Linked DNA regions of Homo sapiens: regions 2, 3, 4, 5, 6 and 7 are each linked to region 1. The links are contacts of gene promoters, found by promoter capture Hi-C in blood cells and fetal thymus (Javierre and others, 2016). All regions are on one chromosome and are shown on one strand. Each heading gives the region's core, a stretch centred on a gene start or on the middle of the fragment in contact. The rest is flanking DNA. Distances are from core to core; before and after follow the strand shown. Region 1 holds the start of RNASEH2B (ribonuclease H2 subunit B). Region 2 overlaps DLEU1 (deleted in lymphocytic leukemia 1). Region 3 overlaps DLEU1 (deleted in lymphocytic leukemia 1). Region 4 overlaps DLEU2 (deleted in lymphocytic leukemia 2). Region 5 overlaps DLEU1 (deleted in lymphocytic leukemia 1). Region 6 overlaps DLEU1 (deleted in lymphocytic leukemia 1). Region 7 overlaps DLEU1 (deleted in lymphocytic leukemia 1).

What was found. The method cuts DNA at HindIII sites, captures the fragments that hold promoters and counts their contacts. A CHiCAGO score of 5 or more calls a contact.
Region 2: a contact is called between a fragment that was not itself captured here and the fragment with the promoter of RNASEH2B in region 1, in 4 of 17 cell types (neutrophils, total CD4 T cells, monocytes and 1 more). The highest score is 6.5, in neutrophils.
Region 3: a fragment that was not itself captured here is called in contact with the fragment with the promoter of RNASEH2B in region 1 in 1 of 17 cell types (M0 macrophages); the score reaches 5.1 in M0 macrophages.
Region 4: a contact is called between a fragment that was not itself captured here and the fragment with the promoter of RNASEH2B in region 1, in 6 of 17 cell types (naive CD4 T cells, monocytes, naive B cells and 3 more). The highest score is 7.6, in naive CD4 T cells.
Region 5: a fragment that was not itself captured here is called in contact with the fragment with the promoter of RNASEH2B in region 1 in 7 of 17 cell types (fetal thymus, monocytes, neutrophils and 4 more); the score reaches 8.7 in fetal thymus.
Region 6: a fragment that was not itself captured here is called in contact with the fragment with the promoter of RNASEH2B in region 1 in 5 of 17 cell types (total CD4 T cells, total B cells, endothelial precursors and 2 more); the score reaches 5.8 in total CD4 T cells.
Region 7: a fragment that was not itself captured here is called in contact with the fragment with the promoter of RNASEH2B in region 1 in 2 of 17 cell types (total CD4 T cells and M1 macrophages); the score reaches 5.3 in total CD4 T cells.

What each region holds. Positions count from the first base shown.
Region 1 is chr13:50,907,741-50,911,427 of GRCh38, forward strand. It overlaps RNASEH2B (ribonuclease H2 subunit B), which reads left to right and starts at 2,051. Exons shown (of 11, transcript NM_024570.4): 1 at 2,051-2,400. The coding sequence starts at 2,337. RNASEH2B-AS1 (RNASEH2B antisense RNA 1) reads right to left here and starts at 2,972. Exons shown (of 3, transcript NR_046552.1): 1 at 2,743-2,972. RefSeq lists silencers at 1,866-2,295, 2,306-2,545, 2,756-2,805. The HindIII fragment of the contact is 8,311 bases long and covers 1-3,687 here.
Region 2 is chr13:50,236,432-50,240,145 of GRCh38, forward strand. The region is part of intron 2 of DLEU1 (deleted in lymphocytic leukemia 1); the gene reads left to right. It overlaps LOC124900337 (a long non-coding RNA gene), which reads left to right. Exons shown (of 2, transcript XR_007063796.1): 2 at 1-2,913. Among named protein-coding and RNA genes, the nearest start is that of DLEU2, 110 kb to the left of the region's middle. The HindIII fragment of the contact is 2,738 bases long and covers 277-3,014 here.
Region 3 is chr13:50,209,113-50,212,724 of GRCh38, forward strand. The region is part of intron 2 of DLEU1 (deleted in lymphocytic leukemia 1); the gene reads left to right. Among named protein-coding and RNA genes, the nearest start is that of DLEU2, 85 kb to the left of the region's middle. The HindIII fragment of the contact is 2,423 bases long and covers 515-2,937 here.
Region 4 is chr13:50,063,648-50,067,339 of GRCh38, forward strand. All of the region lies in intron 5 of DLEU2 (deleted in lymphocytic leukemia 2), which reads right to left. Among named protein-coding and RNA genes, the nearest start is that of MIR15A, 16 kb to the left of the region's middle. The HindIII fragment of the contact is 6,390 bases long and covers 1-3,692 here.
Region 5 is chr13:50,139,267-50,143,054 of GRCh38, forward strand. The region is part of intron 2 of DLEU1 (deleted in lymphocytic leukemia 1); the gene reads left to right. Among named protein-coding and RNA genes, the nearest start is that of DLEU2, 16 kb to the left of the region's middle. RefSeq lists an enhancer at 1,618-2,291. The HindIII fragment of the contact is 7,969 bases long and covers 1-3,788 here.
Region 6 is chr13:50,155,404-50,159,168 of GRCh38, forward strand. The region is part of intron 2 of DLEU1 (deleted in lymphocytic leukemia 1); the gene reads left to right. Among named protein-coding and RNA genes, the nearest start is that of DLEU2, 32 kb to the left of the region's middle. The HindIII fragment of the contact is 2,044 bases long and covers 1,038-3,081 here.
Region 7 is chr13:50,188,066-50,192,274 of GRCh38, forward strand. The region is part of intron 2 of DLEU1 (deleted in lymphocytic leukemia 1); the gene reads left to right. Among named protein-coding and RNA genes, the nearest start is that of DLEU2, 65 kb to the left of the region's middle. The HindIII fragment of the contact is 223 bases long and covers 2,721-2,943 here.

The sequences.
Region 1 (3,687 bases), core at 801-3,300:
CAATGATACTTCTCGATATGAAGGGGCACATGCTTATGACAATGTTAAGTGAGAAAAGCAGACAAAACAGTCTAAATTGTGACAACAACCACAAAAATATACATTAATACAGCCAAGGGCTAGAAAGGATCAGAGAAAAATGAAACAGGTATGTATGTCTGAGCAAGGGAATCATGGGTAACATTTCTCATGTACAGTAGCTCCCCCTATTCGAAGTTTCGCTTTCCAAGGTGTCAGTTACCCCCAGTCGAACTTGGTCCAAAAATATTACACGAAAAATTCCAGAAACAATTCGTAAGTTTTAAATTGTACAGTGTTCTGAGTGGTGTGAAGAAATCTTGCACCATCCAGCTTCGTCCTGCAAAGGACCTGAATTCTACCTTTGTCCAGCGGATCCACACTGCAGAAGGTCCCCTCCTTATGAGTCACTTAGTAGCTGCAAGAGTAGTGATGCTGGCATACTGTGAGAATTGTTCTATTTTATTATTATTGTTGTTCATCTCTTACTGGGCCTAATTTTCAAATTAAACTTTATCACAGATATACATGCAAAGGAAAAAACAGTATATTAGGGTTTGGTACTATTTGCGGTTTTAGGCCTTCACTGGGGGTTTTGGATCCCATCCTACAGGAATAATGGGGTGCTCCTGTAGCTGTTAGTAAGACGATGGTGTGCCTGGGGATTTGTGCTATACACCACAGCATCTTCTACAGTCGTTTTGGGGGAGAGGGAAGATCAGAGCAGTACCAATCTGCTGCTCCTTGCCCCAAAACTGGCAAGAGGCGCCTTTCCTCAGCCAGAAAGGCCTCTTCTCCACCAGCTGTGTCCTGCAATCAACTGCAGCTGTATTGGTCTCACCCCATGGGAAACAGGTTTGAAGTTAAAAACCTTTTCAGAGGGCCGAGATAAATTTAGTGCTGCTAAATTTAACTATCTTCAAGATTAAACATGAAAAGCAAAGTGCATGAGTTATGTATATTATTCTTTCAATTGTGCAAAAATAAGACATTAACTTGTTTTTGCATGGAAAAATTCTGCAAGAATAGAGAAGAAATGTTAACAGTTACCCCTGGGATCTGGGATAAAAGAGATACATCATGCTTTTCTTTAAAAAAAAAAAAAATAGGTTTTTGTGGATTTTTTTGTTTTTGTTTTTTTTGACAGAGTCCAGCTCTGTAGCCCAGGCCAGAGTGCAGTGGTGGGATCTCGGTTCACTGCAACCTCCATCTCCTGGGTTCAAGTGATTCTTGTGCCTCAGCCTCCGTAGTAGCTGGGATTACAGATGTGCACCACCACACCCAGCTAATTTTTGTATTTTCAGTAGAGACGGAGTTTCACCTTGTTGGTCAGGCTGGTCTCCAGCTCCTGACCTCAGGCGATCCGCCCGCCTCGGCCTCCCAAAGTGCTGGGATTACAGGCCTGAGCCACTGCGCCTGGCCCGTGCTTTTCTCTAAAGTATGAAAGGAATATGTACTTTCTTCTTAAAAACCATGTACCAAACAACACTTTTCAATTAAAATGTTATTTTTAAAAGTTTAAATCCCCAAATTTCATGGCTCTAACTTTTTAAACATCACTTTTTAAATAAATGTCTAAGTTTTTAACTCAGTATACAGCGTTCTCCAAAACAACAAATTCATATTCTGAGCCCAAAACTGTGCACCTCTTTTAGTGATGAGGACGGAGTCCAAATTGAGGACATCCCTTGTAGCTCACAATGCACACATATTCTCACATCAATAGCAACACAGAATGCAACTGATGACCAATATATATTCACAAATAATTGAGGACCATGGCTAAGAGTTGCATTCGGATTCCGATGTGACTGCTATTGTCCTTAACACGGACTAGCTCCAGGTGAGTCCCCCGGCCCCGGGGGTGTGGCGGGCGTCACCCGTTGTCCGGGCACACACCCCGCAGACCCAATCCTAGCCCGCTGGCTAGACCATGGAGGGCCGCTGGGTGCAGCCACAGAGCGCGGGGCCCCGGCGACCCCGCCCCGCTCCGCGTCACTCGGCGCCCTGCGGCGCGCGATGAGCACCTACCACTAGCGGAGCCGCGAGGGAGAGGCCGCGGCCCCTTCCCGTTGCCTGCGGCCACCGGCCGGCATTCAGAGCCCCTCGCCTGGCGCTAAATTTAAAAACGTAACACGAGCAGCAGGCTGGTCTCGGAAACGAAACGAAATTCGGTCCCTGGGCCTCCTCCCGGGCGCTGCCGGTCCCTCAGCGCGCCGCGCCACCCGGAACAGACCCTTCTCCCGCCATTTTCGGCGGGGCTGGGAGACTGAGGCCCGCGGCGCTGAGCCTGCGGCGCCCCGGAAGAGGCGGGCGGCATGGCCGCTGGCGTGGACTGCGGGGACGGGGTTGGCGCCCGGCAGCACGTGTTCCTGGTTTCAGGTAAACACGCGCGCCCGGGCGGCGGGGTCGGCCCAAGAACTGGCGGAGCGGCCCGCGACCCCGGGCGCGCCGCCCCCCACCCCGGTGGCTCCCACTACCCGGCCCGGCGCGGGATGGGATTCTCTCTGGGACAGCTGGCCCCGCATTTTGGTCACACGTCATAGCAAGCCGCGGTTTTCAAACCCGGAAGCGCCGAAAAGGACCGAGCGTGTTTCCCGGGCCCTGATCCCCGGTGGCTCGGGTGGGAGGGTGGAAGCCGACTCAGCCTGAGGGGAGCCACGCGGGTTCGCGGTCACCGGTGCGCTGCGGGCCCCGGAGGTTTCTGCCCTTGGTGTCCCCTACCTGGCAGCTGGCCCTGCTTCTGTGATCCTACTGGGTTGGAACCAGGGATCCAGTAGGCTCGAAGTGGCCTCAGACGGTGCGCAGTTTTAAGAAAGCAAAGGGACAGGCCTGCAGTGGCGAGGCAGGAGGGAAGCGGGATGGGAGTCGCGGTTAGGCCAAGGGTAGTTCAAAGCGATTCAGCAGGATGATGACCACAGGAGTGCTGGAGCCGGGCCTTTCAGCCCCCGTGTGGATGATGACCGGCCATCCAGGACATGCGAGGGCTTGGGACAGTGGACAGCCAGTGCCACACAAGGAAGGACCGATTAAATGACACAGTTAAAGGAATTTGGCCTAGGGAGTGCAAGCCAGAAAGGTTTGGTCTTTTTATATATGTAACATTGGAAAAAAGGAACATCTCCTGTTCCCTGTATTAAGTTTTGACTTTAGCTCAGCAAATGCAGTGTTTGTGGCAGTAAATATACTCTGATAACAATATTCTTTCCCAGGAATTTAGAGTTTTATGATGGTTATTGAAAATGTTTACATGACAGGCTGTCAATAATATTTTTTGCCTCTAAAAATAAAACATACATAAAGTGTACGGATTTTAAGTATGCAACTCACTGAACTTTTCATACGTATACACCACCCTAGTAACCATCCCCCAGTTCAAGATGTAGACTGTTTCCAATAACGCCTCATGCCTGTTCCTAGATAGCCCCAGGAACCTCTATGCTGACCTCTGTCACCAGAGATTAGTTTTGCCTGTTTGAATAAGAGTGTACCCTTTGTGTCTGGCTTCTTTCACTCTGAAAGATTCATCCTTGTTGTGAAATTCATTCATGTTGTAGCAGTTGTTTGGTTGGTTGGTTAGTTTTTTCATTGCTGCTTCTGTTTAATTGTATGAGTATCCATACTATGTATCTCTACTGTGGATGGACATTTGGGTTGTTTCCAGTTTGC
Region 2 (3,714 bases), core at 396-2,895, 670 kb before region 1:
ATAAAGTATTAGTTACTGTATTCTCTTAAAAATAGACGTAGCTTTGTTACAGCACAGAAAACTGAGCTGACCTCTTACTAGATTGGCTAAAATGAATTCTGATTAAACATTTTGTAATGGTTTATAAAGTTCGCTTCTCTACAGTATATTAAAAGATTTGTTTAAATGTTGACTGTAAGTTTGGTAAAAATGACAAAGCGGTAAAAATGACATTTGGTAAAAATGACAAGGCTTACACTTTTTGATGATGTTCATTTTCCCCAAAAGTACAGCTAAAGCTTTATCCATTATAATGAGAGTTCAGAAAAGGCAAATGACCACCTCTTTTTTTAAACCAATATGTCTTTGTGCAGTAATTTTCTTGTGGCAAGTGGCATAATCTGGGCGAAGGTAGTGATAAAACTCAGATATATTTCAAGAAAGCGAGTAAACACACTAATGACAATATTCGTATATTACATGCATCTGCTGCTTATGTACTTAAAAAAACTAAATAGGAAAATCTTACTCATCTCTGTAGAAAAACAGGGTAGAGATTACAACTTGGGGACTTCGTGATATTTTGTCTGTGTGCAGTTTGTCAGAAGGCAATTTATCTAAAGCTGGAAAAGGATATGGTTTGGCTGACTAAACTGTGTAGTGATACGAGTGATACGTAATGATAAAAATGCTTAGGGGAATTTTCGGGGCGCTCAAGTCAAGTGTACAGTGCTGTGTGGGTGTAAAAACCAGACTTCTCTCTCTGTGAAAGTTGCTGACATTTTATACCACATGCTGGACCGTTAAATCACAATTTACGTGGTCACTTGTAAATACGCCTGGTGGTGGAGGGCGAGCTTGTTTGTGCACACTTTGACATGCTTCCCTGTTGTGTGCCTCTCCCCTTTTTAAATTGCACTGGATACTTTTGTTCTGGAATCCTTGGCTGTCTAACCTGAAAGCAGTTTGGGTGAGAACTCTGGAACTGATTTATTTTCATAGGTGCTCCCTGAGGGGAGGTTTGAAGGATAATGCAGAAAAGCAAGCCTTCCAATCCTCCAACTAAAGTTCTCTAACTTGCTATTAACATGATTTCAGGCTTGCTAGAGTGCCCGAAATTCTGACATGAAGGGATTCCTTCTTCCACCACTGGGATTTGGAAGTCCCTAGGATGTTTGAATGGGGCATATTATTTAAACTCATTTTCAGTCTCCTCATTGGTAAAATGGGGCTACTCATACTTATCAAAGAGGGTTTTTGTGGAGATCAAATGAGACAATGCAAGTCACTTACTTGATATATGCTTAATAGTGACAAACATAGTGATATATATATATTAATAGTGATAGTTATTGCAATTTTTCTTTTTGTTAGGGGGAAGAGGAGGACAAACAGGCCTTTAACATGGTGGAGAATTTGTTTCCCTTCCAAATACAGTTGGAGGATTACAGAATTGATGCTCAAAGAGAAGGCTTTGCTTTCATTGCTTAAGAGGGTTTCTTGGAGAGGTTCAGCAAGAGAAACACAAAATGAGATGTAGAAAGGGGATGGGGAAGGAGACTGCATACTAATGTGTTTCATTTCCAAGTGCTTTAACTTTTCTAAGCACTAAGTCATCTGCTAACTTGTCTTCATAATATATGGGTAAAGTTGGCAGGGTGGGTATCCCTTTCTACGGGTGAGGAAACTGGAGTGTGGACAGATAAACTCACCTGTTGTCACACAACAAATCAGTGGTACAGTTGGGATTAGGACCCATGTCTCATACTCTGAGCACAGCAGTCTCTCTATTAGGTGACATTCTCAGAGTTCAATAATTTCTTTCACAGTTTTGTGTTCAGACCTGGGGTCCCCATTGCTGAGCCTATTATTGGCACCTTACAAAATATCACATATGAGAAAGGTTGTAGTCTCTTGGTCCAAAGGACTACTTTCACCTGGAGATGGTTGGAGTTGTAGTATCTGAGTTAGATAAGTTTTCACTTCACGGTCATGGGTGGAGGTCTTTCTTGGACTTGGGCCAGGAAGAATCACTGACCAGGAAGGTCACACAAGGCCTGAGTCCTTTCTAACACCATCTGTGCACTGTATTTCAGGGCCTAGTGGCTGCATTGAAAGGAATGGAAAGTAGTTGCTGGTTATGTTGAGAAATATCAGGAAAGTGTGATGCCTTTCTCCTGTATTCCCTCTTCCCTCCCTCATTTTTTCACTTTATTGATAAAAATAATCCCAAAAGATCAGAGAGGGGTTCTATAGGTGTTAAACCACTGTGTTATGACTTGAACTACAAAGCCCTTGGGGGCATTCAATTTCCTCATGTTTTGGGGTAGCAGCAAAATTTAATTTTAGGTAGAAAAGGGTTAACTTAGGGGCAATGTAATTCCCAAATTATCAGTGTGAAAATCATCTAACTGTATGTGAAAAATCCAATAATGTTAAAGGTAATTATCTGGGAAAGTAAAAATAATACACAGGTCTTTGGCCAGAAATAAGGATTTGGAACATTTCTCTATGCATAGAGAGTTCTCTAGTAGGCAAATTTAGATTCATGTCAGTCATTAAAGGTCCCTGTGAAGTATTTAGTTTATCAATTTAGCGCTACATTTTTCTACAAAGAAGAGTTGGAGTGGTTTAGGTAAGAACACAGATATGCTAAAACCAAACCAGATGAACCCAAGACAGAAACTAGAAAGAAGGCAGAAGGAGAGGATGAAGATGTAGCAGTGAGAAGCCTGTTGGAGGAAAGTTTGAGTCAGTGAATGTAAGCACTTTAGCTTCCTTGTGGCCTGGAGAGCAGGTATTTTTTGGCTATTTTCTTTTTTTATACATGTATCTCCAGCACTAGAAGAGTGCCTGACCTGTAGTTGCTCAATCAATACTTGCTGAATAAAAATATATGAAAATCTGTCAAATAAAGGGTTTAAAAAAGCTGGACTAAAATGTTGAAAATGATTAAAGCTGGGTGATGGGTTCATGGGAGTCTACTAGACTATTCTCCTCTACATTTGTGTGTGATTGAGAAATTTTATAACAAAAGCTTAAAAAAATAACAAAGAAGACTAGACACTGTAATCACTGGAAATAACCAGACATTAAAAAATCTTTGTTTCCCTTTTTGTTACAGGGCAAGCAAGTAAAAAGACATTTTATATTACTAAACACTATCATATGCTAGACAGTAGTAAAACTATAGTCCCCAAGTTTATCTTTGAAGGACTCCAATGGCAAGATTTTTAATAAACAAAGCTGATCATCTCATCTGTATCATTATTTCTTATTATCACTCTATTATCATGGACTCCCAGGAATCTTGGAGATGAATTTGTTCACCTCCTCTAAGAGGAATCATCATCATTGTCCACTCCCTGTCAGCACTTTTTTTTGAGATGGAGTTTTACTCTTGTTGTCCAGGTTGGAGTGCAATGGCATGATCTGAGCTCACTGCAACCTCTGCCTCCTTGGTTCAAGTGATTCTCCTGCCTCAGCCTCCCGAGTAGCTGGGCCTACAGGCACGTGCCACCACGCCTGGCTAATTTTTGTACTTTTAGTAGAGTCAGGGTTTCACCATGTTGGCCAGGCTGGTCTTGAGCTCTTGACCTCAGGAGATCCGCCCGCCTCAGACTCCCAAAGTGCTGGGATTACAGACTTGAGCCACCGCACCCGGCCCACTATTTTTTTTTTTTTTTTTTTTTTTTTTTGGAGACAGAGTCTTGCTCTTTCACCAAGACTGGAGTG
Region 3 (3,612 bases), core at 476-2,975, 700 kb before region 1:
GTCTGGGGAGAGACCCTGGGAGAGGATGTGGAGGAGGCACTTTCCTTTCCCAGACTGGAGATCAGGCGTCCCCAGGGGCAGGGGGCTGGGGGTAGAAGGTCGAGGAGTGAGGAGTTGTGGAGAGTGAGTGGTGTCTGGAGCATAACTGTTGTATGTATTCATGCATGCGCGTGTACACATCACTGAATTTGTTTGTGGTGACTAGAGTCAGTTCTAAAATGTGTTCTTGTAAAGTCTTAGGCTCCTAAAAAAATCATTTGAATATGGATTTTAAATATTCTCAGAAGTTTGAGAAAATATTCCTACTAACTATGACAGGGAACAAATACATACAAATTAGTTAATAACATCATGCTAAAACGTATAATGTGATTTTCAAAACATGCTAAAGAGTTAAAAAGTCTTTTTAAAATTTGTTTATTTTTTATTTCTCTTCCCTCTTAGAGCGTAAAAAGTTTTAAGAGGGTTTTTTGTTTTTTCTTGATATTTAAAATTTTGGTTTGATGCTGAGAAAAGCTTTCCACATACTAGGCACGTAATAGATATTCAGTATTATGTGATCACAGGAAGTAAAATAAGTTAGAGAGATCAGAGAGATTATTCTGTATTTAAAGGATTGAGATTTTCTACTATTTTTAGCCAAAGAACAATATGCAACCTTGAGTTAAAAGATTCCTTATTACTGATTGGGAGTTTGACTGTTTTGCAAAAACTGTGCTTGCCACATATTGTCAGATGATGATGAAAAATCTAAGTTTAGGCTTGACATATAGTGAATTATGTGGCTTTTCCCCAACTTGAATAAACATACTTAAAAAAAATCCCACTGGTTTATTTGTCTTCATGTAGCTTGCTTACCTCACAAGGTTTATTTCAGTAGTCATTTAAAACCAAATTTCTGAATTCTTACATTGTATAGAAATATCCCAGGAACCATTTTTGGGTTGAACAAGACTTTTATATTAGTTCCCCAGTCATAACAATATTTTCTTGAAGTTACAGTAATATATTCTTGAAGGCATAATAATACATTCTTGAATATATTATTGAAATTCAACTTATATGAGAATATGTTAAGAATGTATGAGAATATATTAAAGAATATATTGAATGGTGGTATTACTTATATATTATTTATCACCATTTCTGGATATAGTGATATGCTTTTTTTTTTTTGAGACAGGGTCTCACTCTGTCACCCAAGCTGGAATGCAGTGGCAGGATCGCGGCTCACTGCAACCTCGGCCTCCTGGGTTCAAGCAATTCTCATGCCTCAGCCTCTCAAGTAACTGGGACTACAGGTGTGCACCACCGCACTTGGCTAATTTTTGTATTTTTTGTAGAGACAGGGTTTCACCATGTTGGTCAGGCTTGTCTTGAACTCCTGACCTCAAGCAGTCTGCCCATCTTGGCCTCCCAAAGTGCTGGGATTACAGGCGTGAGCCACCATGCCCAGCCTGGATATGGTGATATGATGTTTAGTTAGCCACAGCCTCTGGTGAGGACAGTTGACTAATTTAAAAATGCTTGGCACACACATGAGCATTGTATCCTGCTGAGAGTCTTCCACAGATTTGTCCTTTGGTCTAACTTATATTTCTCTAGGTGAAGTTTACACTCATTTCTTTTTGTTCTACCCTTATCGGTGACTAAGAGACCAGCTGTATTCCAACTTCTGAATACTGGCAGAATTCTGAATCAGTAGCTCTTCCAAAAGGGCCTAGCTTACCTCAGAGAATCAGTCTGACCCTTGTGTCCTTGTCTCCTCTATGGAGAACATGGAGTTGCTTTTCTTTGCAGTTGGTTGTAGCTTAAACCATAGTGCATTGCTGAGTCGTGTGATGTGTGATTCATCAGGCCTCAGGTGACAACGGTGGATTTCCTTCAGGAATGAGTAGCAAACATTTTGGCCCCTCTTTGGGTGCCAAGCACCATGAGGTAAGGGAGTACTTTACAGACCCCTAGAGATCCACGGGTGCTCTAGATATAGCCATATTTCAGCCCCTGGATCCTTTGTTAGTGCCATATTAGGAGAATGCCTGTGGAAATGGCTTCTTTTCTCCACATAAGGCTTTTCTTTTTCTATTTTTAAAAATTTGGACCACCAGGCAAGAACACATCAGGAATTTTTCTGTTTAATTTGAACACATGTGTTAAGAGGCAGAGTATAGAAAGTAGTCTGAGACTAGAGAATCTAATGGAGTAACTAAGAGGGTTTACACCTAGGATATTGGAATTAGCTATGTCCTAGGCTATAAATCTAAGGTATCTTTGTTCTAAAATGAAACATGACACAGACATGACAGATGACAAAGAGTACACTTTATTGTAGATCCATATAATACTGAGAAAATTATTTTTCTGCAAATCTCCTTGGAGATCAGGATGGGGTTGAACCTCACCTGAACCTTAAGTCATGGAAAGTGAAGGAGAATTTTAGGATGGCATACAGTACAATGATCTTTAAAATGAACTGCAGGGCCAGGCGCGGTGGCTCATGCCTGTAATCCCATTACTTTGGGAGGTTGAGGCGGGCAGATCACGAGGTCAAGAGATCGAGACCATCCTGGCCAATATGGTGAAACCCTGTCTCTATTAAAAATACAAAAATTAGCTGGGCGTGGTGGCACGCGCCTGTAGTCCCAGCTACTCAGGAGTCTGAGGCAGGAGAATCGCTTGATCCCAGGAGGCGGAGGTTGTAGTGAACCAAGATCGTGCCACTGCACCCCAGCGTGGGTGACAGAGCAAGACTCCGTCTCAAAAAAAAAAAAAAAAAAAGAGAGAGAGAGAAAGAAAATGAACTGTAGAACACTGATGTTCTTCTGGCAAGACCAAGTTGTTTTGCCACTAAAATATTGGAAAAATAAGTGTCTTTTCTTGATTTTAAGAAAAACACTTTCCCAGAATTATGTATGCTTTTCTCCCAATACTTTTTAAAGCTTTGGTGTTTGTTTCTGTACTAGAATCTAGTGTAAGAAAGATCTGACTGAGGGCACATGTTCTCAGGATCTCCTGAGGGCTGTGTCACAGGCAAAAACGTGGAATAAAATAAAATAAAATATCCAATTAAGCATAACACATTAACTTTAAAAAAACCTAAGTGTAGCAGTATTTAATAGTGTTTTGCAAAGATGCTGTTACTTTCATGACACCTACCACCTGAAGAAGTTTGAGAAGGACCAGGTTCTAATTGTGCAACTGCCATTAACTAGCTAGCTGTCCTTGGATAAGCCTAGAAAAGCTGCGTAAAGGAGGAAGGATTTGAATTGGACCCTGAAAGAAAGTCAGATCTTAGAAAAGCAGAGAGGGGAGGGGGAAGTTATTTCTAATGAGAGAAGAGGAGGGTAAGGAGATCAAAGACCTAAGAAGTATAAAGTTTATGTGGGTAATAGAGAGAACATCTGCTTGCCATGAATTTCTCTTGAGTTTTTTTGGCCCCAGTGTAGAACTAGTGTCTCTGTTCTCTGCTGTGACCTCACCTGGAAATGTCTATTAGTTTATCATGCCATGCTGGATTAAAGAAAAACCACAGAGAGAGGAGTTCAGAGATTTATGTATTATATAATACATCATAATTATTTTTATTTAAATAATTATTTTTATGAATTAATA
Region 4 (3,692 bases), core at 1,188-3,687, 840 kb before region 1:
TATGAATTTTTTGGGTTATAACACTCTTTCACCACTAATCCAACTGCCAAAAGAGCAATTTATTTTTTCTCTTTTGGGGAATTCCTTTCTCCCAGAAACATTCCCATTTTTAAAACTATTCAAGATAATTAGAATTTCCTCATCAGTGACACAGGTATACAGCAATTTACACAAGAGTAAATTTCTATCACAATAATTAAAAATAAGAGAAACTTTGGCTATGTCTAGTGCATAATATAATTACATCATTATGGTTTTATTGAAAGCACAACAGATTTTATATCATTTGCCATATATCAATTACTTACTGCTCCACTGATAAAAACATTGATTTTTTTTGCAGTATTTTCAGTCAGTCCTACGTTTGTACATTTTATAATTTACAATTGACAATATTTTCTAGGCTGATGATTACATACCATTGCTTTTATTGCTAACCTGATAATACTTCTAAAAACTTATATTGATAACTAGTCATATGTGAGAAATAGTTTTTGTTATTTCTTTTTACTAGGCTTGCTCTTGATAGCAGCCAAATTTAATAAGTCTTTGGAATTAGGAAGTAATTTATCTCTATCATTTTTGTTTATGGAACTAACATTGACAGCACTGGTGAATATTCTGCTTCATCTTTTCTTTCCCTATTTATAAAGTCAATGTTTTAAGATTTTTATTGTAGATTATTAAAAAGAGAGATGTAATATTCTTAACTGCTGACAATGTTTTGAGATTTTTTTAAGCACCAAATATATATTTAAATTTACATAACAGATGTCAACATGTATTTACATTTGCAGGTAAACATATGTTTACATTTACAAACAGAAATATATAATTTAAGTGTCTGTATTCGAAAATGCAATGTGAAAAATAAAAATAATTCAAAAAAGAAAAAGAAATAAAGACATATAATTATTTCTGAATTTTTTGTTAAGCAGCGAAAGTTTAAGATCTCTAAATTGAAAAATAAACTTGAAAAATACTCCATCTCTATATTTAATTTGTAAAAATGAACCCCAAACTGCCATTGTTTGACAGGATTGTATACATGAACATCACTGTTCTACAACTTCTAGAACATCCACATTCCACAAATGAACAGCTTTAAAAAAAATCCCATCTTAGGCAGGGCAAGGTGGCTCACGCCTGTAATCCCAGCACTTTGGGAGGCTGAGGCGGGCAGATCACCTGAGGTCAGGAGTTCGAGACCAGCCTGACCAACACAGAGAAACCCTGTCTACACAAAAACAAAAAACAAAAAACAAAATTAGCCAGGCGTGGTGGTGCATGCCTGTAACCCCAGCTACTCAGGAGGCTGAGGCAGGAGAATCACTTGAACTTGGGAGGTGGAGGTTGTGGTGGGCCGAGATCATGCCATTGCACTCTAGCCTGGGCAACAAGAGCGAAACTCCATCTCAAAAAAAAAAAAAAAAGAAAATACATCTATCTATCTAGATATCTAAAATCGATCTATATATAGATATCTAAAATATATCTATATATGTAAATATATATTATATATAAAATATATGTAAATATATATTATATGTAATATATATTATATATAATATATGTAAATATATATTATATATATGTAAATATATATTATATATAAAATATATATTATATATATGTAAATATATATTATATATAACATATGTAAATATATATTATATATGTAAATATATATTATATATAACATATGTAAATATATATTATATATGTAAATATATATTATATATAACATATGTAAATATATATTATATATATGTAAATATATATTATATATAAAATATATGTGTGTATATATATATATATCCCATCTTTTTTTTTTTTTTTTTTTTTTTTTTTTTTTTTTTTTTTGAGATGGAGTCTCACTCGGTCGCCCAGGCTGGAGTGCAGTGGTGTGATCTCGGTTCACTGCAAGCTCTGCCCTCCGGGTTCACGGCATTCCCCTGCCTCAGCCTCCTGAGTAGCTGGGACTACAGGCACCCGCCACGACGCCCAGCTAATTAAAATATATATCCCATCTTAAAAAATAAATGGCATTAAACAAACATTAAAAAAATGATAGAAGGGGAACACACAATCACACACAGCATCACTGACTATTGCCAGTCACTATGTACCTATTATTCTGGGTATTGTTTAATTGGAAACATCACCATTTTAGAATCTAAGATTAAGGGGAATCTACCTAGAACAGACAACAGAAAGCATTCCAACTATGAAATATGATAAATGGCCTATGTTTAAAAGATGCTGGAGAGTATCCAAGAAAGACTGCTAGCTTAGAAATTTATAAAGGAGATGAAATGAAGAATGTGATATTATCTGTGCTTATGTATCTGTTAGAATTCAATGATACCTATTTCTTGTTGAAAAGTGGACTGCCCTCCATTCTGAGTGTAGTACGAATTAAAAAGACTTCTTTTTTTAAAGAGTTAAGTTGAAGAAGGGCTGAGCTGGCTTCCAAGGCACTAATTAAGGAATCCAAGCCTGTACTATATAGGATTCTTTAGGGATCTGCAGATATTTCCATTCTAATTTTCCAGAGACAAAAATGTAACCGGGAGAAAATTAGAAAAAGAAAGTGACCTGTGGCATTTGACTACTACTTTGCAAACTGGCTTATTATTAACAGTTTTCAACATTTAATTGATCCCCCACTTAAAAATTCTCACCTTATTGAGTTCAATGGCTGATCGTCTATGATCATAAGGCCATCCCCAACATATACACATTATTTGAGTCACTGTGAGATAATGTAATAAAAGCATCTGAAGCACTAGTTTCATTTAAACAGAGACATGCCCTCAACATCAAGAATAGAAAGTCTTGCGCTTGAGTTTTTCTTTAGAGATGCAGAATTAGCTCAAGGAATGGATGGAAATGACATTTTTTGGTAACTGATTTTAAGGTCTCGAATACTTTTATGGAAATAAGTATCCTGCGCATTTTATATGCCCTTGATCTTGTGAGTTTTTCTAGAGGCATAATATTAATTTCAGTTAACTTGTTAAAATTATTCTTTCAGAATTTCTAAGTGTCTCAAAAGTTAAATGAATTGGGGAAAAATGTTTCTTATTCTAAAAAAGAGGTATGCATGTATATATATAAAAGGAAGGAAAAAGGAGAAAAATCCTCTTTTTGATATTTGCAGGAAATATCTGAGGTTTAGCTTGGGAGGCGATGGGGCAATCCAGGGCGAGAAATGATGTCTTGAATAATTAAGGTGACTACTCCTGACCTTCAACTAAACAGACTACCTTCCTGTCTACCCTGAAGGTATCACTTTGGTGTTGCTATCCACTGATTCACTTCTGCAAACTTCCCTGACAGAAGAAAGGAGGACTTGCAGCTGGACACTGCTCCCTGGCTCTTCGGAGCGGTTTCTTTACACTATGCATGGACCACAGATCATCTGCTGCCATCCTACTCAGGGAGAGCTTGCTAAAGATGCATGGTCCTGGCCCCCACCCAAAACCTCTGACTTTGAATCCATGTCAGAAATCGTTTAATTTATGTACTTACTTGTTTATCTGTTTTGTTCACTGCTATATCTTTGGCTCCTAGAAAAGTACTAGGAACATGGTAGATACTCAATAAATATGTACTGAATAAATGAAAAAAAAAAAAACCAACAAAAGAAAGGGAAGGAAAAGGGATTGCCTTCATGTTTCTCCCACCTC
Region 5 (3,788 bases), core at 14-2,513, 770 kb before region 1:
TAACAAATTTCTTTTATTTATTATTTATTTATTTATTTTTTAAATTTTTTATTTTATTTTATTTTATTATTATTACACTTTAAGTTTTACGGCACATGTTCTTATTGTTGAAAGTTTGACTTATTTCCCCTCTTTTTTCTATTATGAATAGTGCTACATTGAGTATCCTGTAGTCTGAGTGTGTGTCTGTTTAGTATTTATGGCATGCTACTTATTTTTTTATTTTTATTTTTAATTGTTGTGGGTACATACACAGTAGGCGTATCTATTTATGGGGTACAATGGCATGCTACTTTTTTTTTTTTAGACAGGGTCTCACTCTGTTGCCCAGTCTGGGGTGCAGTGGAGTGTGATCACAGCTCACTGCAGCCTCAACCTCCTGGGCTCAGGTGATCTTCTCACCTCAGTCTCCAGAGTAGCTGAGACCACAGGCATGCGCCACCACACACTGCTATTTTTGCATTTTTTGTAGAGATGGGGGTCTCACCATGTTGCCCAGGCTGGTCTCAAACTCCTGGGCTCAAGTGATCTGCCCGCCTTAGCCTCCCAAAGTGCTGGATTACAGGTGTGAGCCATTGTGCCTGGACGGCATGCTACTTTTTAAGGCTTTTGATGCACATGGGCAAATTCTAGAATGGCTGTACTGAAGTAGACATTGTGGACAATGCATTTGGGTTCTTGTTTCACACACCAGAGCTTCACTTTTCATCTGCAACGGCATTCTGACCATTTTTAATGAGCATTAGTTATTTGACACTGAGCATACCACTTTCCTAACTTTGAGAAGAAAGAGAGGTATTAAAGTCTTGGGTGTGGCTGTTTTTCAGAATTTACAATTAAAAATCTATCTCAATATTTTGCTGTCTTTAAAAAGCAGTGAAGTCTGAGGAAGGATATTAGTGGATTCAGTGGCTGCTGTTCATAATGCCTGCAGGACATTTTGAGTGTTTCCTTCCTGAGTTCAGAGCCTCATCCTCGCATCTCAATGAGACATTACCCTAGAACCTCTACCACCATGACTACCAGCACTTCTGAATTGAAACTGTCTTTGGCTGTCAATTTGCTTTGGGGACCTTTTCTAGAAGTTAAATTCATTTTTGTGGAGGCTAAAACTAGTCACTCGATCACATTTGTGATATGAGTCATGTTAGAATAAAGATCTAGAAGAGTGGTAGATCCTATCTAACTTGCACAATAGTAGAAAGTGAGGTACAAACAATATTTCTCCTAGTCCCTCTGAGTTCAATCTGGATTTGAGATTTACTTTTCATGATCTGACACAAAGTATGTGTGTGTATGTGTATTTTGAAAAATTTGGACAGGAGTCCCATATGATGTTGAATTAATCAAATATAAATACACACACACACACACACACACAGACACACACAAACACAGAGACACACACTTTATTCCATTAGGGAAAGTATGCTTTCTTTTTTTTCTTTGCTCACAAAACTGAGAAATTGGCAGAATATTTTACTTGTAACTTGGCAGTATTGCAATTTACAGACGAGAAAGGCAAGCCAAATTGGGTGAAAATTGTTTGAGATTTTTTTTCCCAGTTTTAGACAGTGAAAATCATGTAGCTGAGCGTGCACATTCAGCCGTTTTCTGCTTGATTTTTAACCGCGTTTGTTCATTGGCACTGCCAGAGCTAGTTACAACTTCCCGGTGCAAGCATGTGATGGCCAGGGGAAGGTGTGGGGATTCGTGGCTGTCCTCCCCATGCTGTTAATGTTAAAATAACTGTTGTTTGAATTGTTTTGAGATACTGATTAGAGAAATATGAAATGTGATATTATTTGAGCTTCATAAATCCATCTTAATTATCAATATATAAACACAGACTTAGGAGTGGGAGATCCAGATCAGACATGTTTACAGGCCTGAGCTTTTTCCGTGAGTTTCTGGAACATTGTGGTGCCTGAGACACAGCGGGAATCCGACGACTCTGAGAACGGACTTTCCCTTTTAAATGCTGGAGGCTTTGAAATCGTCTTCACAATGAGGGAGGATTCATGAAGTAATGAAAAGCTGTTTCCTCTTTAAAACGTTCAGACAGCAGCACAAACATCTGGGAATTTGTTTGAATATTTGGGTTCCCTGAATTACCCATTTCCTTAACATACATTTTACTTACTTTTCCAAGGGAGATACATTTCCACCTCATGTTTTTCCCAGTTTAGCTGTGTTAGGCTCTTCACTTTAGCATTTAGGTTGCTTTGTATTTAAGGACACAGGTTAAGGCCGTATTATGAAAGGTATGATTTGGGTTTGGGGGAGCAGGATGTTGTTATGCGTGAGGGGCAAAGTGATTTTTGTGTGTGATACAAGTTTCAATTACATCATGGTGTCATCCTTATAAATTAAATTTAAAAACAGTTGTGCCAAAAAAATAGCCACTAATGTTTCTTTTAAAAAATGATTAAGCAACAATATTTACTCAATATTTGAATTAAGCAAAACTGTCATCTTCTTTCTCCTTTTCAGAACATAATTCCTCTTTCAACTTCAGAAGTCATGAGACTTCCCTTTCTTTCTCCATTCTCTTCCTCACACTGCAGTGTCTCAAAGGGTGAAAATGTCTGTGTGTGGGAGAGGGTGGTGGTGGTAGGGCAGTGGTCAGAACATTCTGGAATCCAGGATAAGAAAAACCAGCTTGATTTCTGCACTTAGGACATTGTTGATGTTTATTTAGGGATGTGCTATCTGGATTGATGGAAAAATTTGGAAATACTTAAATATTTCGGTATGTAATATCGGATGATGAGACAGTGCAGCACTGATAGCTTCCTGGTTGTCAGTGTGGCTCTGTATCTCTGTTTTACTTGTCATATTTGTACTAAGACAGGTGTGGTTTTAAACGGTCAGTATTGAACTATTTTTGACTAATTAGATGCGTTACGTGTGACTTGCCAGTTTATAATTAGTTAACATATGATAAAAAATATGAGATATATTGATTGGTATAACTATACTAAATATAATTTAATCTAGTTGACTTTTTTAATAGGCATTTTAGGATACCACAATTACTGCTGTGAACTTCAATGGGTTATGAATGACAATTGTTACTCTGGAGCATCAGGCATGTAGAAAGTATAGGGATTGGGCTTAATACAAATTTAGTGGCATAACCTGGCAGTCGCCTATTTGATTATAATTCTGCTGTTATTCTGAATGCTGTTCATCTGCCCTTATCTCATACAAGTAGGTTGCAGAACATATTTTTAAAAATCTGGCCGGGCACAGTGGCTCATGTCTGTAATCCTAGCACCAATTCCGAGGTTGGAGGTTGGCCCGAGGTCAGGAGTTCAAGACCAGCCTGGGCAACATAGTTAGACCCTATCTCTACAAAAACTTAAAAAAAAATGAGGTTGGGTGTGGTGGCTCACGCCTGTAACTCCAGCACTTTGGGAGGTTGAGGCGGGCGGATCACAAGGTCAGGAGATCAAGAGCATCTTGGCTAACATGGTGAAACCCAGTCTCTACTAAAAATACAAAAAATTAGCCGGGTGTGGTGGTGGGCGCCCATAATTCTAGCTGCTGGGGAGGCTGAGGCAGGAGAATGGCGTGAACCCAGGAGGCGGAGCTTGCAGTGAGCCGAGATTGCCTCACTGCACTCCAGCCTGGGCGACAGAGTAAGACTCCATCTCAAAAACAAAACAAAACAAAACAAAACAAAACAAAACAAAACAAAACAACAAAAAAGAGCTGGGCGTGGTGGTGCACACCTGTAGGCCCAGCTACTCAGGAGGCTGAGATGGGAGGATCACTAGAGCCCA
Region 6 (3,765 bases), core at 810-3,309, 750 kb before region 1:
TCACTGCAACCTCCACCTCCCAGGTCCAAGCGATTCTCCTGCCTCAGCCTCCCGAGTAGCTGGGATAACAGGCATGCGCCACCACACCTGGCTAATTTTTTTTTTTTTTTTTTTTGTATTTTTAGTAGAGACAGAATTTCACCATGTTGGCAAGGCTGGTCTCGAAATCCTGACCTCAGGTAATCTGCCTGCCTCAACCTCCCTAATTGCTGGGATTACAGGCATGAGCCACCGTGCCCAGACCCAGTGTCTTTTTGTGTGAGGACCACTACTAAAGTTTTAAGAGATTTCTTAAAAAGGCAATCGTCATTCTGAGGCAAAGATTACCAACATCTGGATTCCAAAAAGTGGGGAAAAATCAGTTATTCATATATATTAAAATGACACACTTCATTTCCAACTACCAAGTACAATGTTCACCTTTATTCTGTTTGTTTTCGCTTTGTCGTGCTACTGAAATATGTGTGCATGTGTATTTAACCAAAGAGAAACTCACTCCTAACCCCATATTTAGTGGTGGGACCATCCCTTATTTAGTGAGGCTGTTTTTTTTCCCCCCAGACCCGAGTTGTTGTTGCCCATGCTGCTGAATTCCCAATATGAATAAATCATAATCATATGATTATACTAAATCAGAGGTTTCAGTACCCTTCCACAAAGTGACAATAAAATGCTCATTAAAAAAAAGAGTAGGTTGTGTTCAATGGTGTTAATTTAAAATTTTAATGCTCAGGCCAAAATGCCAGAAAGTGAACCTCAGTTTCTTGGTAATAATAAGGTGAACTGGCTTCCAGCAGAGAGATTTTGTGGCTTCTGTATCCTGCCGCTGCACTTCTCCCTTCTCCAGCCTCCTTTCTATTTGGTGGTGCAGAATCACCTTGGTCAGCCCTTTGACCTTGCCTGGAAAAAAGTCCTCATCAGTGAGTGAGTGTGAGGTTAGAGTGATAAAGATTCTAAAGGAATGCCTTGTTTTGATTCAAATAGTTGGATTAGTCACAGAGTTACTTAATCCACACACATAGTAGAATCCTCCAGCAAGCTTCTTTGTTTTCATCAGAGCTTTTGAGAGATTATTATATTATATCTCTATCTTTTAAAGATAGAGTAGAAATCCATCTATGAAGAATAGTTTTAGGTGCATTCCTGCCTGAACACACATTTGGACAGTCTTATAATTATGTATCTTCCCGAGATGCATTTTGAGCCATTTCTACCCAGAACTTAAAAAAATATTTCCTATGAGTGCTGGAGGTTCTTGCTTCTCTTAACCCACTAACTTTTTGAAGCCATAAGAATATCTTATTAAGGATTATGCAAAATAACGTCCTACAAATCCTGATATTATTACACTGCCCAAAAAACTTCAAAGCATCAGGAAAGTGTTGTGTTTTTTTTTTTTTTTTTTTTTTTTTAACTAAACCAGATTCAGCTGGCTACCCCACTTGGCTACAGAGTACTAAAGAAGAGACTGAACTTGATCCTGCTGCCCTTGCATACACAACACTCCCATTGACGCTAGTGAAGACTTAAGCGCATGAAAGGATTCCAGGATCAAAAGGTTAGCTCTATGGGGAGCTGTGTCTGGCTCAAGCAATCCATTTTTTTCTATTGACAGTGAAAACGTTTTATAGTTCTTTTTCAAAGTTTTCCCAAACTTTTACAATAACAGGCAACTTGTGAAAAAGTGAGAAGGCATCTAATTGAACTATATCCAGAGGAGATCATGGCAGAGACCAACAGGAAGAAAAACATTTCCAAACCACAGCGATATTGGTCAAATCAATTGTATTTGAAGAATAAAGCATTTGAGGCGTCGGCTGAGAAAAATTTTCATTATGAAACTTGGTTGGACTATGAAGCAGAATGTGAGATAAAATAAAACACAGAGCTCATGAGTTTTTATCTTTGTCTGCTAATGACTTATGCTAGCAGGATTATACTTTTTTTTTGCATTTTATGAGATGTATGAACTAGGAAGAAAATACATGCTATATCTAAATGGATTAGACGTGCAGATTCTTAACTAACATTTAATTCATTGCTAGTAAAACAAATGCCTTAAAACATTTAAAAAAGTGAAATTATCTTAAGGAGATAATTAACAAGCAGAGTAGAATAGCATTTTTGAAGAAAGTGTAATATGGTTCTACACTGGCATTTTCTGCATTTATTGAAGATACTTAGTCTATCCAACAATTCACTCATTCATTCTTTCATGAAACCCTGTCTCTACTAAAAATACAAAAAAAAATTAGCTGGGCACGGGGGTAGGCCCTTGTAGTCCCAGCTACTCGGGAGGCTGAGGCAGGAGAATGGCGTGAACCCGGGAGGCAGAGCTTGTAGTGAACCAAGATCGCGTCACTGCACTCCAGCCTAGGTGACAGAGCGAGACTCCGTCTCAAAACAACAACAACAACAACAACAACAACAACAACAACAACAAATTTCTTTGTGCACTTACTATATGCCCAATGCTAATCTAATAGTTTTACAAGACCTCAATTGAACAAGTGTCTGAGGAAATGGATTGCATCTAATAAAGCAAGACACACCAACTGTGGATGGGTGGTGTGTCTAGAGTATTTTGCATTCCTAAATCACTCTTCTGGAGAAAATTTGTATCAATAATTTTGTCTAGCTTCACCTGGAGTTACACATTTTGATTGGTAAGTGGCTTCTGTGATTTGCCTCTTAGAAATACATTATAATGTTATCCTAATATATGTACTAGGACAGACAATGCTACGTTGAACTAACTTGAATAGCATATTTTATAATCATAAAACTGATATAATATTATAGTTTTGATCTTAATCCTCCTCTATTGTATGAGCAATGGAAAGTCTTGGTGAGGAGCTTGTCTAAACATTTCTCTTGCATTTTCACATAATTGGGCTTGACAGTTTCCTGCCATTGTATAGGATAACTTCAGTTGATGGTGATCATGTTTTTGCTTAAGGGTCATTGAATTGTATTAGAAATTTTATACCATATTCTTGTAATCCTATAAGTCATTTTTGAGTTACATTATTGAAAGTGAACAATAATGTACCACAAAACAAAAGTTACTCATGCAGTTAAAGCTTTTTTTTGTACCTAGGTTTAGAAACTACAAGTCCACAGAGAATAGGGCTCGTGAAATAAATGAAAATACACGCTCATCTCCACCCACTCCTTGTTGTTGGGGCCTGGTCAGATCTGGTGAAAACATTAAGCCATTTGCCTTAAGTGGTATTGGCAAGTTAATTTATTCACCTTCTGGAAGGTACCAGGCTAGTGCTTGCAGAGGCAAGATTTTTTTTGGGTGAAGGGAGCAAACTTTTCCACTTAACATGTGCCCATGGAAATCAGGTACTTCTTTTTTCAGCTACCTTAGCTTCTGTTGGGAATTTGAGGGTGTTTTATGGGTTATGTTCTTATACGGTGGTTAAGTAGGCTTGCTGAAATGGATCTAGAAAAGACCCAGGTCAGTCACTGGTTGAAAAAGGGTTGACAGAAAATTAAGGAGATATGACTGAGAGCAGTTTCTCTTTCAGGTCCCCAAATTTCTCCTCTAGCCAATTCACATTAAGGTCTGAAATTTCCCCCATTGGTGTCATTCCGGCCATTGTTTCCAGAAGGGACTTTCAAAAATGCAAATATGTTCCTGTGGAGCATTTGCACATTTGGTGAGTTTGTCAGCCTAAATGAGCAGTTATCTTTGGAACTAAGAAAGAAGGGTCTTAACAGAGAACCAGGTTGGAGGAAGAAAGATCCTGAGAACAT
Region 7 (4,209 bases), core at 1,582-4,081, 720 kb before region 1:
CTCACTTTGATATGATGTGTTCAATAAAGTCATCTAAGACCCTGCAAACCAGATCCATCTGCCTTCACACTTTCATTAAATTAGTAAGGTCACTATGAGGAGAGGTATACAGTTACTGTTACAGTATTTACCAAACAGTGGGCCCACAGCCACACTCCTCACTTCTCCTTTTGGTCTCTCCTTAGAAATAAAGTTGTTTAAAACCATTTGCTTCCAGAAGGCCATATATAAAGGTAGTAAATTTAGGTGTTAATTCTGAGCATGGTAGTGGTGCTGTGCCTCATTGCTTTCCAGTCTGAGGATGACTTCTACCCCAAATTATTCTTTGAGTTACTCCTAGCAGGATGAGAGCAGGACACAGGGCTCTAGGGGAGAGGAAAATGACTAAGATGATTTAGCATATCTTTATCCTTTACACAGCTTTGCTATAAATTTATAGATGCATCTGTATTATTCAGGGCTTTCCACAGAACAGAAACAATAGGAGCGATATAGGTTCTCCATATATACATACATACACATATCTCTCTCTCTCTGTATATAAATACATTCATTATAAGGAATTGGCTCATGTGATTGTAGAACTTGACAAGTCCCAAAAGTCCAAAGATTTGCAGGGTGAGTTGTTAAACTGGGACCCAGGAGAGCTGATGGGTCTTAAGTTTTACTCTAAAACTTCCCTGCAGGCTCAAGACTGAGGAAGAGCTGATATTTCAGTTTGAGTCCAAAAGCAGGAAAAGACTGATGTCCCAGCTTGAAGGTAGTCAGACAGAAGGAATTCTCTCTCATTCAGCCTTTTTGTTCTGTTCAGTCTTCAACTGATTGGATGAAGCCCACATACATTAGGGAGGGTGATCTGCTTTACTCACTCTACCAATTCAAATGTTAATCTCACCCACAAACATTCTTATAGACACACTCAAAAGAGTGTTTGGCCAAATGTCCAGGCACCGTATGGCCCAGTCAAGTTGACACATTAAAATTAACCATCACAGCATCCATGGAGAGTATAGGAACATGTAAATTACAATTGAATTCCCATGCATATATATGGGTATTACTTGATGGATATGATCATGTTTTTAGAGCTCAGTGAAAAATAAGGCATTAGAGAATTGCAATAAATAATAAAATTATTTATTTTGGGTGCTTTTGTCAAAGAGGTATATTAATCTCTTGATCCCTTTCCTCTGCTTCATCTAACTCGTAGGGGATATACTTTATATTGCTGTGCTTGGCATCAGCAACTGATGTGACAGCTCTTCCTCTGTTCTATGAAAAGGTGATGTACTTTAAAAAAAATGTTTCTGTAGAAAGTGCTTATATCCACTCAATAAAATCTCTAACAGGTCTAGCTACTTTAAAAGGAACAGTTAGGAGAGATGTTTTGCTTGAATGATAGTTTAAAGAATTCCTGTGTTTTTTCCCATTAGCTCCATCTAACTTGGGTTGTCTCAGAGAAATCCACTGGAGCTGATCTTCCTCAGTAAGATGTCTTTTGGTTTTGTTTTATCATCATTCCTCATCTGAGAACCAGAGAGAGAAAGCTGTCAACAAGTTATAGGTTCGTCCAGTTGGTGGAGCTGTTTGGGCCACAGCACAGGGACATATCTTTTGGGTGGCAAGTTCTAGGTATGGGGCTCTTTCATTTGCAGGTGGCTTATCCAAGAGGGCTGGAGATGTAGCTCCTAATATTCTTAATCCAGTTAACCGGGATGCTAACATGTTGTACTGATGTTACTTCTGTGGCAAAACTTCTCAGAGATCTTGGGCCCAGTAACTGGTCCAAAAGAAAGACTTGAGAGGAAGAATGGCTTTACCTGAAGTCTATGGTCATTCTTATTGCTGTTTTTTGTGCGTTCAATTCAGACTTTCAGCTTGGTCACTGTTCTTCTCTTCTTCCCCTTCCTCTATGTGGTTGGGGACTGGAAAAGGGTGTCCTAGTTGTTCGAGACCCTATCCTGGACTGCTCTTTGCTCCTATCTATCCAACTTCTCAAAGTTCAGCTTTGCTTTTCCTTTCCTGCCTTGTACTCACCCCTTTGGGCTAATGAGATTCTCAGCTTTTTCCAAACGCTGACTCTTCTCTCATCTCTAGGTCCTTTGGGTAAACATCTCTTCCAACCTTGATCTAATTTTTAAAAAACTGCCCCTTATCACTAATTTTAGAAGCAGCAAACTCATTATATAGTAATTTAGATTAAAATATATATATAATTATTGTATTCCTGGATTTTGTTCTTTTTTTCTTGTTTAGTTCTGAATTTTGCTCCTCTAGGATATTCTTAGTAAATCTCTAAGGAAAATGCAAAATCTGCCACTAATAAAAGCAGCCACTGACATGGATGGGATCTAGGGCGAAAGCAAATGGGGAAAAATGGGAAACTTAAAAAATAAGAGAAATGCCTTTTTTTTTTTTTTTAAAGCCAGAGACATGATCTTGCTGTGTTGTCCAGGCATTTCAAACTCCTGGGCTCAAGCAATCCTCCTGCCTCAACCTCTCAAAATGCTGGGATTATAGGCATGAAATGCCTATTTTTGAATGGATACTTTTAAAATTATCTACTTATCTAGTATGCTCCCAGCATCTGAAGAGCAGATAGGATTCATTGATGAAAGGGTGAGGTGGTTAAAACATACAGGAGGCCAAGACTAGTAGTTAGCCCTGTGTAGGTATCACAGGATTACTTGGGTCAGAGACTCAAGCAGAAGTCTCTTTAAAGCTTTTCTAAATGATAAACATTGTTGGAATGGGGTAAAGTTGTTCTACTGCAAGAAAACTCTTCATCAGAAGAAATTAAGAATTAATTATCCTTATCTAATTAGACTAGGTGTTTCTCAATAACAAGAAAAAGTAGTTGCTGCTTGCATTGCTTTTACTCTGGCACTAGTATAATGCAGTCATTATTGGTCATAAAGCACTCTAAAACCAATTAATTTGTAAAGCTTATTTTGACAAGAAGTAAATACAAAGGTAAGGCATAGTTAGCATAATGCTGCTATCATGGCACTCTTGGGCATAATTTATATACATAAAAAATACAAGGGCAAGTATAACTTTCAAGCTGATTGCCTGTAAAAGACTTAATTGAAAACAGTTTTCTGCTTTTAAAAAGTGATTTATTTTAGATGTGCTTTAAAAAACAAAGGTCTTATTGATAACCATTTTGAGTATATTATCTCGATGTGGGATTTAAGTAAAAGGTCAAATCTTATAGAAGTATTTTTGGTATGACTCAATTCTGATCACAGATAAACTTTATCAAGAAAATGAAATTAGTTAAACATTTTCATGCCTGAGCACTAGTTTAAAGAGGCAGCAATTTTTTTTTTTCACAAAGACTTCAAGAAGAGAACTTTGGTTGAGAAACCTAGAAAACAAAGAACTCAAGATGTTATCGTATAAATGTTCTTTAAACAAGTTAATATTATGAGAGGGGAAAAGCATTAGATATGTTTCACTAGAAGAATAAACAATTCACATGTGTAATTTTTGCAGTGGATAGACAAATCTCAGATCTTTTCTGCCTGATATCATTTGCATTTATTCAGCTTATTCAAGTAAAAGACTTATATTTTATTTCAGAAAAGCTAACATGGAACTTTTAATTTTACATTTAAGTCCTGTTTAGTTGTAATTCTCACTCCCCCAGCCCCTGTAGCCTCCTGAACAGCTCTGACTTGCTTTTTTTCTGAATCCAGCATCAGTCCTACAATTAGTCCATTGGCCAGGTGATGGTCATGTGCCTGGTTAGAGTAGGGCAGGCTCCATTTGCTGATGGGCTGTGCGACTCAATGTTCACAAATGTTTAGTCATTCAGCTCCTTTTCAAGGAATAAGCCTGGATCAGGCAAGTAATTAACCTTTGCTAGTCCCAAGGTTTGTTCATTAGAGGCAGGGAAGGAGGAATCTTCTCACTTTTCTTCTCAGTCCTACTGCTCGCCCCAGCTTTATGAAACATGAGCTATGTCCTAAGGGAAGAGCAAGTGGGCCTCAGGTCCTCAGAAAGCACCACAAAACTCTTAAAATATTAAGCGTAGGAGTCTATTGTTCCTTTGTTTTCCTGGACAGGGAAACCTCTTTAACATTGGACTTCATTGTCTGTACCCCATTTCCTGTTCTTACAGTGGCTGTTCAGTCAGCATGATGGCCGGTGGGACCTGGAGGTCCAGCAGCAGCTAAGATGTCCAGGCCCTACTCGTTTGTACCC